Linked DNA regions of Homo sapiens: region 1 is linked to region 2. Evidence: promoter capture Hi-C in human tissues and cell types (Jung and others, 2019). All regions are on one chromosome and are shown on one strand. Each heading gives the region's core, a stretch centred on a gene start or on the middle of the fragment in contact. The rest is flanking DNA. Distances are from core to core; before and after follow the strand shown. Region 1 overlaps DNAAF9 (dynein axonemal assembly factor 9). Region 2 holds the start of SLC4A11 (solute carrier family 4 member 11).

The links. Contacts are between HindIII fragments. The study calls those that stand out against the background at their distance.
Region 1: a contact is called between a fragment that was not itself captured here and the fragment with the promoter of SLC4A11 in region 2, in 3 of the 25 tissues and cell types used here (adrenal gland, bladder and hippocampus).

What each region holds. Positions count from the first base shown.
Region 1 is chr20:3,313,755-3,319,230 of GRCh38, forward strand. It overlaps DNAAF9 (dynein axonemal assembly factor 9), which reads right to left. Exons shown (of 37, transcript NM_001009984.3): 17 at 4,535-4,646; 18 at 2,969-3,039; 19 at 1,981-2,031; 20 at 1,279-1,366. Among named protein-coding and RNA genes, the nearest start is that of SLC4A11, 77 kb to the left of the region's middle. The HindIII fragment of the contact is 6,892 bases long and covers 1-5,476 here.
Region 2 is chr20:3,235,483-3,241,384 of GRCh38, forward strand. SLC4A11 (solute carrier family 4 member 11) reads right to left here and starts at 3,708. Exons shown (of 20, transcript NM_001174089.2): 1 at 3,613-3,708; 2 at 2,062-2,106. The coding sequence starts at 3,655. RefSeq lists silencers at 3,518-3,697, 3,798-3,957. The HindIII fragment of the contact is 33,876 bases long and covers 1-5,902 here.

The DNA.
Region 1 (5,476 bases), core at 1,632-4,131, 77 kb after region 2:
CAGGCTGTTAAAACTGCTCAGCTACAAACAAAGTACTACCTTTCACTGAAAAAGGAAGGATGACAGCGGTGTAGCTATAAGCTCAGAGGGTGGAGCCATGAGCCCAGAGCAAACCAAGAGCAAACAGGGTAGAACCAAGAGCACCGAGGCAGAGCTGAGAGCCAGAATTATTCCCAGGCCTTGAAACCTTATCAAGGAACTGAAGTCTGCCCAGCTGAATTTCAAAGCTGCCATGGGCTGGTGACTCCTTTTTACCTTCTGTTTTTCCTCTTTGTGAACCTGAAGTCTATGCCAGTCCCACCTTGCATGTTGGGAGGGCTGCAGGCAGATGACTTGTCTCTTTAGTTTCGTAGGTCCACAGACATGGAGAGAACTATGTTCAGGAGCTGTAGACAGATTACACTCCCAAGCCTCATTTACATGGGACTTAGATGAGCTTGATCATGAGATTTTAGATATTTAAGCCCATGAGATTTAGGACTTTGAACTGTAGCCATAATGGGATGAGACCCTTGGGAGGAGGTAACAAGGGACATGAATTATGGGGGGCAGAGGGTGGGCTGGGATAGGCAAAAACTTGACATGCTGATAGCCGAAGAGGAATTAGAGAGACTCAAAGTGTGTGAGAGATTCAATACAAGAAGGTTCTTTATAGCTGAGATGGAGGGGGTCACAAGAGCAAGGACTTCTGGGAGGAGGAGCTGAGAGGATCCCTGTCTGACAGCCACCAACAAAATGGGGACCTCATTCCTACAAGCGAAAGGAAACAACATCCTTGCTGAGATTGGGAGAAGATTCTTCCCCAGAGGCTCTAGATAAGAGCCTAGCCTGGCTGATGCCTTGATTTTGACCTCAAGAGATCTGGGTCCAGCCAAGCCTGCCTGAACTTCTGACCTGGAGAACTGTGAGATAATAAGAGGGTGTTGTTTTAAGCTACTAAATTTGTGGTCATTTGTTACACAGCAAGAGAAATGAATCCAGCTTCTGTTTAGGTCCACAAATTCTATTTCTGGAAATGCTGCTGCCCTAGCCCATTGAGAGAGCTAACTAACCTCAGGCAGCAACAAAAGGACCAGGTACAGTTCTGTGATCAGCCCTTCCTAGCATAAATTTCCTCATCTACAAAGTGGGTGGGTCGAGAGAAAAGCTGTAGGAAAACATTTCTGTACCACAATTGTGTTCAAATAGAAGATGTATTATTAATTACAACACCCATGCTGACATCTGCAAATGAGGGACCCAGACATGGCCAAAAACATTAAAGTCATAGCTCCTTACCTTCCTCAGGCCAGGACTGTAGATTGCTGGAATAAAGATATGCTCCTTCTCCTCCTGTTAGATAAGTGCCCAGGAAAGACTCATCCCCCTTTAAAAACAACAACAAAAACAAAAATCCAAAAAAGAATAGGTGATTTATAGCATAAATATTCACAGAATCAAAAGTCCTGCCCAATTATGTCCGTCTACAAAAGCTGAGTCAGGCTCAGATATGCCCAATGTATTCCATGGCCTTTGGCATTGTCTGGCTCTTTGGCAGTTACTGGCATCCTTGATTTGTGCTGAGAAAAAGAACATTAAGATTCTCTCTGAGTCCAGGCATCAAAGCCCGCAATGCTTGTTCATGTTCCAGTGGATTTATTTCCTTTGTGAAAACAGAGGCAGCTTCTCCTTGGCCTAAAGCCTTGATGTCTCAGCTCTACATGTCTAGGCCAATCTGGGATCTGCTTTTAATATTATGGGGAGATTTTTAAAAGAACACCAGAAGGCCCTGATGGAATAAAGAATCCCTCTAATTGTATCCCCCATAAATGGTTATTTCTAAAGCTCTGCTGGGAAGGGGAGGAATGCAAATAGGAAGTGAAGACAACATAGTGCAAGTCTTTTAGATTAGTAGTGAGATGAAGCATTTTAATACCTTTATGAATTGCTTACATTATTTTTTGATATAATGTTCACACTGAGAATAAGAAGGCTGCTTACCCTCACTGCTTGCTGGGTTTTCTCAGACAATTTTACTTCATTATCTTCCACCTGTGTCCAAAAGGAATGCAGATTTTCAGTCAACTACTTCAAGGGAAAACCCTGCTAGGTCTCCCCACTGTGTTCAAATATTTCCAGGACACTGGCTGGACAGTCCTTCCACCATGTCCATGTCCAGTGCTCTCAGGCCCTGACACACCTGAGATGTCTGCTGGTCACCTGGGCTCAGAGCCCAAGGCCTTGGTGGGCTCTCTCACTAGGACCTGAGGTCCAGCTAATGAGCTTATGACAAGCAGAGGGGATGTGTTAGTCTCCACCTGTATTTCACTTCAGAAAAAAACAACTGTTTTTAGGGATGAAGCAAAGATAATGTATTAAAATATTTTCAGATTTAAACACGTTTAGGTTAGAGGATAACTCTCGGTCTTCCCTGTCTGTGTGGGAACTGTAGAAGCAGAATGTGAGCACTCTCAAGAAGGGACTCAGCCCATTAGCAGACTAACTGCTGTCACACCTTTTACATTCCAAGGCCCCAGTTTCAGACCAAGTCCCTCCCACTGCGGAAGATGGGACTTTTCTACTAGCAGAGAGATGTTGCAGTAAAAACTCCGTAGCAACCACTCTACCAGGGAAGCAAGTCACGGGATCCACTTCTCATGATTTGTGTGACCTTGGCCGGGCCGTTCAACTCCTAAGCTCAGTTTCCTCATTTGTAAAATGAGGCTCTTAATTTCTTCCTTTCCTAATTTAACAGTGACCCACGTAACTTTGTTCCTTTCTTTTGAAACTTTTCTAAGATTATGAGAGTTAACGGAACTATGTTCATTTGTATAAAGAGAAAGGGCTGGGATCAAAAATTCCATTCCTGAACAACAGCTAGTTCAGGACCTGACATCCCACCAGGGGCCCAACAAAGAGGCTCTTCCTCAAGTGTTCACCCTGATTTCTCCACACGTAGGTCCACTTCCACCTGATGAATGACACTAACCAGCCAGGAGCAGAATCTGGGTACAGCAGCAGTCAGGACTACGGAGCTGGTTTCTGTGGTAACAGTGCCATCTGCAGGAACACCACACACATGCCAGTTAATTCCCTACCAGCTCAGCCTGCCTTGCAGGCCCCAGACCCTAAATGCCCTTCTCAGGAGCTAGGGTTCTTTTTTTTTTTTTTTTTTTTTTGAGACAGAATCTTGTTCTGTCACCCAGGCTGGAGTGCAGTGGCGCCATCTCGGCTCACTGCAACCTCTGCCTAGCAAGTTCAAGCAACTCTCTTGACTCATCCTCCCGAATAGCTGGGATTACAGATGCGTGCCACCATGCCGGGCTAATTTTTGTATTTTTAGTAGAGATGGAATTTTGTCATGCTAGCTAGGCTGGTCTCAAATTCCTGACCTCAGGTGATCTGCCAGCCCCAGCCTCCCAAAGTGTTGGGATTGCAGGCAACATGGCAAAACCCCGTCTCTACAAAAAATATGAAAAATTAGCCAGGTGTGGTGGCGCATCTGTGGTCCCTGCTACTTGGGAGGCTGAGGTGGGAAAATCGCTTGAGCCCAGGAGGTGGAGGTTGCAGTGAACCGAGATTATGCCACCACACTCCAGCCTGGGTGACAGAGCAAGACCTTGTCTCAAAAAAAAAAAAAAAAAAAAACCCCAAAACCAAGAAACAAAACTTTTGGGAATTAGTCCATTTTACCACTACTTTTTAATTTTTATCAAGGTAGTATAGGTATACATATTAAAGATCAAAGAGAATTATCAGGCTCATTCTACCATTCTTTAGAATATTTTCATTCCTTAGAATATAATAAATCTTTAGAATATTTTGCCAACCTAACAGGTAAAAAAATAATATCTAATTACTGTTTCAAATTGCTTTTTTTTGAGACAGAGTCTCACTCTGTCACCCAGGCTGGAGTGCAGTGGTGCGACCTCAGCTCAATGCAACCTCCGCCTCCTAGGTTCAAGTGATTCTCCTGCCTCAGCTTCCCGAGTAATTGGGATTACAGGCACCCACCACCATGCCCGGCTAATTTTTGTATTTTTAGTAGAGATGGGGTTTCACCATGTTGGCCAGGCTGGTCTCAAACTCCTGACCTCAAGTGATTCGCCCACCTTGGGCTCCCAAAGTGCTGGGATTACAGGCATGAACCACCACGCCCAGCCTTCAAGTTGCTTCTTCTTGACTACTAGTGAGATTACATATCTTCATTTATAAATAGTCCTCCTCTCTTTTTTGTTTTCCACGTCTGTGAAGTGCCTGTTCATTTTTTTTGCTCATTTTACTATTGGGTAGCTTATCTTTTCTTATTAATTTTGGAAGAGTTCTTCATAAATTAGGTTATACACCCTTTGTTCATCTTTAATGTTTCTCTTTTTTTTTTTTTTTTGATACGGGGTCTCACTGTGTCACTGAGGCTGGAGTGCAGTGCTGTGATCATCAGTTCTAATATTTTTACCAGTTTATTGTTGGCCTTTTGCCTTAGTTTATAGTTTATTTTGCCAAAAAAAAAAAAAAAAGGCTTAAGGTTTGCTTTCTAAAGATCACATATACTTACCCTTTTCTTTAACTAAGATCTGAGAAGTCAAAAATGATTCAGAGAAAACCACAGATCCTAAACAACCATTGCCTCCCAGTAAGTCAGGAATGTCATAGACGGCCATACAAGCCTGCATTGAATGAGAAACCAGTTAGATCAGTTACCAGCCCAAAACTTTCAGAGAAGTCCATAAGAATGAGACCACAAATACTGCCTAAAGGAACATGGCAAAAGAGTACTGAAGAGTTTCTAGGGAAAACTGGAGTTATCCTAAATACATCTTTGAACTGGGAGGTGACTTTAGGATCACCCAGGCTTCCCTGAAATTGCTCCCTGATCAGAGACACCCTTGGGCTATAAGGAAAGTATCCTTATGTTTCCGTATATTCCCTCAAATTGCTTTATGCTGACTAGGCACAGTGGCTCATGCCTGTAATCCCAGTAATTTGGGAGGTCAAGGAACCCAGGAGTTTGAGACCACCCTGAACAACACAGTGAGATCCCCACTCTACTAAAGAAAAAATTAGGCTAGGCATAATGACTCATGCCCATAATCCCAACACTTTGGGAGGTTGAGGCGGGTGGATCACTTGAGCCCAGGAGTTTGAGACTAGCCTGGGCAACATGGTGAAACCCCATCTCTACTAAAAATACAAAAAAAAATTAGCCAGGCATGGTGGCGTGTGCCTGTAATCCCAGCTACTTGGGAGGCTGAGGCAGGAGAATTGCTTGAACCTGGGAGGTGGAGGCTGCAGTGAGCTGAGATCGCGCCACTGAACTCCAGCCTGGGCAACAGAGCAAGACTCTGTCTCAAAAAAAAAAAAAAAAAAAAAAGAAAAAAAAATAGCCAGGCATGGTGGCGTCTGCCTGTGGTCTCTGTTATTCAGGAGGCTAAGGCAGGAGGATTGTTTGAGCCCAGGAGGTTGAGGCTGCAGTGATCTATGATCATGCCACTGCACT
Region 2 (5,902 bases), core at 2,458-4,957:
GAGCCAGGGGCTGACAGGGGAGAGGACCCCAAGGCCTCATGTCAGCCCTGCCCCCATCGTGCTCCTCTTCATGTTCTGGGGGCCCTGGGTAAGGGCACATGGAGAGTGAGGGTGTGTAATGGCACCTGTGGGATGTGGGACCCCAGAGGTGAGAGCCTGCTCCCCTTGGTCCTCAATTCCTGCAGCTGGCCAGCAGCACACCCCTCTTCCTACAGGAAGATTTCCTGGTAACATGCAAATATTCCTCTGCCCTGAGCCCTGCAGTGGCTCCCTGCAGCCTACAGATCACAGCCTGAGCCAGCCCTGCTCCCCCTGCCCTGACCACTGGCTCCTCAGGCCATCCGGTCAGCACCCTAGGCATGCAAGGTCCTGTCCTCCAAGCTGAGGGCTTCCCTCCCTGGAGGGCCTTTTTCAAGACTCACTTGGAACCTCCTCCTCCAGGAAGTCCTCCTAGATCCCTGCCTCACCCCTGGCCACTGGCAGCCCTTCCTGTCTTGTGGGTCCCCTAAGGTTCCTCACTTGTAGGTACTCCCAGGAAAGGGGCCCTTATAGCCCAGACCCCACTGATGCCTGACAGACACCTGTGCAGAAACAAGGATGGGTCAGCAGCACGCCTGCACCTGCCAGGGAGTGACTCACCCTGACTCACTTCTACTCCCGCCGCCAGTTTCCTTGGCACATCCCAGGCCCTGTTCCCCCAGTGTCCTGAGTTTAGCCTGGGCCCCTTCTGGGTAGGAAGCCCTAGTGCCTCCTGCATCAAAGTCCCCAGGGACTGGTGACTCCCAGGCCCAGGCCTGCACTACCTCCAGAGCCCAGAGAAGAAATATTAGGTCAAAAGACATCCTTGCCTTTGGGAGGCCAAGGCAGGCGGATCACGAGGTCAGGAGATCGAGACCATCCTGGCTAACAATGGCTAACATGGTGAAACCCTGTCTCTACTAAAAATACAAAAAGAAATTAGCCGGGTGTGGTGGCGGGCGCCTGTAGTCCCAGCTACTCGGGAGGCTGAGGCAGGAGGCTGGTGTGAACCCAGGAGGCAGAGCTTGCAGTGAGCCGAGATCACACCACTGCACTCCAGCCTGGGCGACAGAGCGAGACTCAAAACAAAACAAAACAAAACAAAACAAAACAAAAGACGTCCTCACTGCTTTGGTTCTGGAGCTCATGATAAACTCCTTCCTCCCCGGGTCAGGCTTGCCTTGTTTAAACTGTCTGGTTCCCCTGGCCCGAACTTGTCCCAGCCTCCCCTCTGCCCCTCAACCAGCACCCACTAGTCCCCTCCACTGCCCTTCACACAGCCCCGTTCTTCCCCCATTCTTCCCCTGATGCCCTCAGCTCTACCTTAGACTTAGTGCTCAGGTCCCCTAGATTAAGGACCTGCCCAGCTGACACTACCAGGTTCCTGGGGGGCTCCTGCAATGCCAAGTCCTAGTCCCAGCCCCATACGTAACCTGCCCACCAGCAGCCTAGCACACAGAGCCCCATGTCCTGAGGGCTCTGGGTAAGGGAACATCAGCCCTGTGTCTACGCACTGCTCTACAAACAACCCTCGAATGGTCAGGTCACTCATGGGGCTAGGCACAGGACACAGCCTGAAGCCAGCCCAGAGACATGAGGAGGAAGACAGCTGGACTGGTACAAGCAGGGACAGCAGGAAGGTGCCCGAGGGACTGCAGCACAGAGGCCTTATATTTCTTTAAAGAGACAACGACAGATATTCCCTCCAGGGCTGGGTGAGGACAGAGGGACAGGGGCACACAGAATTCTTGGCCCAAGGCTAGTCAGATAACAGGCCATTGTCACAGAAAACCTTGGGTAAGAATCCCAGAGGGTTCACCTGGTCCAAGTAGCCCAGGAGAATGGGCAGCCTGCCCTCTCAGGTCCACGGGGGATCCGCCCATGTCTAGCTTCCCGAAGAGTGGAAGCCAAAAGCATTCCAGCACTAGAGTGGCCCAGATAGGCGAGCAAAGCCACAGGACTCTGGTGGGTAGGCTATGCACCCTGGAGGCTTTTGCCCGACAAGCTCTCTCTGCACACACACACTCCCCGAGAGGTACTCACTTGAATCCTCGAAGTATCCATTCTGCGACATGGTGGGAGAGTTTTCTGCAAGGGAAGCAGAAAGGTCACCAGCCCCATGGACCAAGCCCTGGACCTCCTGTGTGCACCTGTCTCCCCGCCCCCCGACCTGGCTCATTCCTTCGCTCTTCCGAGGGATGCAACCCACGCCACCCTAGGGAGAAAGGGAAGCAGGGGACAGTGCTCGGGAGGGGGCCCCATAGCAGGGGAAGCCAGCCTTAATCTCAGAAATTCAATTGCTTAGCCCATCTGCTAGGGGCTGCCCAGGCGGGCCAGAGGCGAGGAGGAGAGACGTTCCAGGGATGTCTTCCCACCGAGTTAGTACCAGTACCATGTTCGCTAATCCAGGTTTTCCTGAGAAAACCCTGCCCCGCTGCAGCGAGAGGAAGGGACCGGGCCCGAGCGGGCCTCTCCCCCTCTCTCCTCGGATGCCAAGGCGGGGGATCTCTCTGCACATCCCTCTTCTCACTCTCAGACCGGTCCTGGGGGCCATAAACGCCCATTGCAGGCGCAGTTCCCCCGACCCCCGTCACGCGCCCCGGGTCACACGGGGGCCGACAGGCAACGGTCTCCAGTCCTGGGACCGCGTCCCGGCCGCCTGGAAGCCAGAGCCGTTGGTCCAAAAGGGAGAACAATTGGGGGTGGGAGGAGTATCTGAGGGACACATGGGTCGGGGGAGGCTGCGCCCTCCCTGGGCCGGTCCCCGGATGGTCCCGGCTGTTTGTGCCTCGCTGTCGGAGGAAGGAAGCGACAGGAGGGGCCGCGTGCACGAGAGGAAAGCGCCTCCAGACTCGGAGACCCCGGGGGTCGGGGCGCAGGATGTGAATGCAGGCGCGGGGCGGGAGCCGGGGCTGCATCCTGAAGTGGGGGGCGGGGGCGCTGGGGCGCGTCCCAGGCCGTGGGCGACGAGGGTCTGGGAGGGTTGGGCCGGTGCACACTCCGCTTCCGTCCCGGCGGCCCACGTGCAGGTAAAGGGTCGTACAAACCTGGGTCCTGGCGGGGACCCAGGGCTGGCCCTCCCGTGTCAGAGCAAGGGAGAAACCGCTGCGGCCGCGCAGGGCACGGTCAGGGGTCCCGGGACTCCCAAAACTCCAGGGGTTCCGGGGCTCCCACCGCGGCGCCGGACGGGAAGATGCCCGGGCGGAAGGTAAAATGAGACCTTCCGAGGCGGCGGCCCGCCAGGCTCCCAAAAGCTCGGCGCTCGGGGCGCTGGGAGCCCCACAGCTCCGCCCTGCCCACTTTCGAGCTCCCCGCCCTCGACCCGCTGCATCAGCTGTTCAAACCTGGTAAGAAATTCAAGACGGCGACAGCAGAGCCCTAATGAAACCAAGCGCGCGGTGGCCGCGAAGCCGCGCCCGGGCCTCCCGCACCCGCGCCCTCCTCCCCGCGGCTGGGAATCCCGCAGCCCTCTCGCCCACCGGCCCCGGCCCGCGCAGGCAGACGGCATCCGCGTTCTCCCCGGGGTCCCCGACGGGAGACGGTGGCGGAGACCCGGGCGGCCTTCCCGCCGCGCCCCCGGGTTCAGGCACCCACCGCACGGCTGCAGATGGAACACGCGCCTGGTGGCCGCGGCCATGGCACACTCGCGCACTCACGGCCGGGCTCCTCACGCGGCGCTCCGGCGCTTCTGGACCCCAAACTCGGCGACTCGGGCGGGCCGGCGGCGGGAGCCGGCGACACACCCCCACGCCGCGCCTGGGTCCTAATGCCGCTCAGACGCCGCGCCCGGGCGCGGTAGGCAGAGCTGCCGAGGGCTGGGACCCGGCCGCCCGCCCCGCGCCCTCACCCGCGGGAGGCTGCTCCAGCCGGGCTGGGCTGCTCCCCGCCGCCCGCAGCTGCTGGGCCAAACCGAGTAGACCCGGCTCCTTCGAGCCTGTGCGCGCCGGACCCAGCAGACCCAGCGTCGCGAGTTTAGGGGCTGGACGGGGCCGGGGAGCTTCTGGGAAAACGTTCGACTGCGCCACGAGCCCACCGAGCTGTGCGACTGAGGCAGACCCCGGGAGGGCTTCCCCCGCGTCCGCTTTAAGTACGCGGCCGGCCCCTGTCTCCTCCTTTCGACCGGGGACCTCCGCAGGGCCACGCCCGCTGGCTGCCCCGCCTCCTGCATTTATCCCGGTAGCTCCGGCCGCAAGTCCTTCTCCTCCTCCTCCAGGAAGCGCGCCCCGACTGACTAGACGGACCTCCGTGCATTCCCCGGGCTACGCCCTCGCCCGCTGAGACGGCGCTCTCCGAGCTCGGCTGCTTTGGGTTTTCGCTGCGAGCCTCGCCAACTTATCTGCCAGCCTCTTCACGTCCTCGGCCTTCTATGAGGTCAAGGTCATGGTTCGCCCCCTTTTTCCTTCCCCAAATGGCCCTTGCGCCCTGTCCCCTTTCCTGGACCGGCTGCGACCCGCCCGGGGACGCGCCTTTTCGGGGCGCTTAGTCTCCTGCGAGTAGGGCGTGTGCGCGTGTGGGTGCGCGTGCTGCGATGCGATCCGGCAAATGCAGCTGACGAACCCCTGGCCTGATCCACGGTGGCTCCCAGTAGAAGGCTCTACAGCCCTTGGAAACGGAACACGCAGCTCCGTAAAGCGCTAACCAACCTCCCGACCCCTCCGGCCGCCATCGCTTTCCGGCTCAGCCGCGCTGGGACGGAGTCCTCGGCCACTGTGCCCTAACCATGGTAGAGGAACGGGGACAGGCCGGGGCAAGCCCACCTCTGCGAAGGAAGGGCTTCTGGCGCGTTGGGGAAGCCTCATGCATAGATTGGGTGAGTAAGGCTGGCCCAGTTCTCCTCCCGGCAAGATAAGAACGCATTAGGAGGGAAGCGCTGGAGTGCTCCTCTTGGCGACGGATGGCCTGGGGCTCTGCGACAGACTGAGTACCCCACCCTCCCCCAGCGCGACTCCAGGAGGCCTTGTGGAAGATCCCAACACCATGACCTGCAACTGACTTGGGGCTGGCCACATAGTATTTTAGCAGGGGTGACTCTGGAGAGACACCAGGTCATCCTGCGCACCCCTTGGGACCTTTCCTAGACGCCCTCCAGCTAGAGCTCCAGTCCAGGCACTGACTCCCGGGTGGCGGGTGGAGGCTGAGGAAGAGCTGAAGGACACAGGCGGATGTCGCCCCCGGAGCATGGCTGCATAGGTGGCATGCAGGCTGGATCCCTGAAAAGCCACCTTGCCACCCCCAGTCTCCCCCATCTGGGAATGCCTTGGCTTCTGCACCTGCTCCCAGCAGCTCCCAAACACCTGGTCCTTCCAACCCACTTGTTCCAGGAAAGCCTCTGGGATGGAGGGCGCTTCCCCTTACCACAGTCTCCTCAGCGCTCCTCAAAGGACCTAACCCCTCAGCCCACTGAGGAAAGAGGAGCCCATGACCAAGCCGCCCCTAGTCGGCTATGGGCCCCCTCTGTCCGCTCCCTGACCGTCTCTCAAAGGAACTGGCACTGAGCCCTTCTCTGCTACACCTGTGCTCTGCCCCTGCGGTTCTGTTCCCTCGGCCTTCCTGGAGGGAACCCCTGAGGCCCACACGCCTGCTGCCTCCAGACTGACCGTTTCAGAGGCTGTTTCCTTCAGTCCTCCCACCTGCCTCCTGTCCTGTGTAGATCGTCTGACGCTGAAGGCAAATACTGGTGCCCCAGATCTCCTGTCCTGTGCCCCACTGGGTCCTTACATAGGCAGGCAGGTTGAGGGACCCAGACGCAGGCACCCACTTTCCCTCTCATTCCCTCCCTTGGGGTCTCAGACTTTACTGGGCTGTGGACTTGAAACTGTAACCGCTGGGTTCCACAAGGCGCACTTAACAGTTTTCTGCTGTCCTCCCCTGATGCCACTTATCT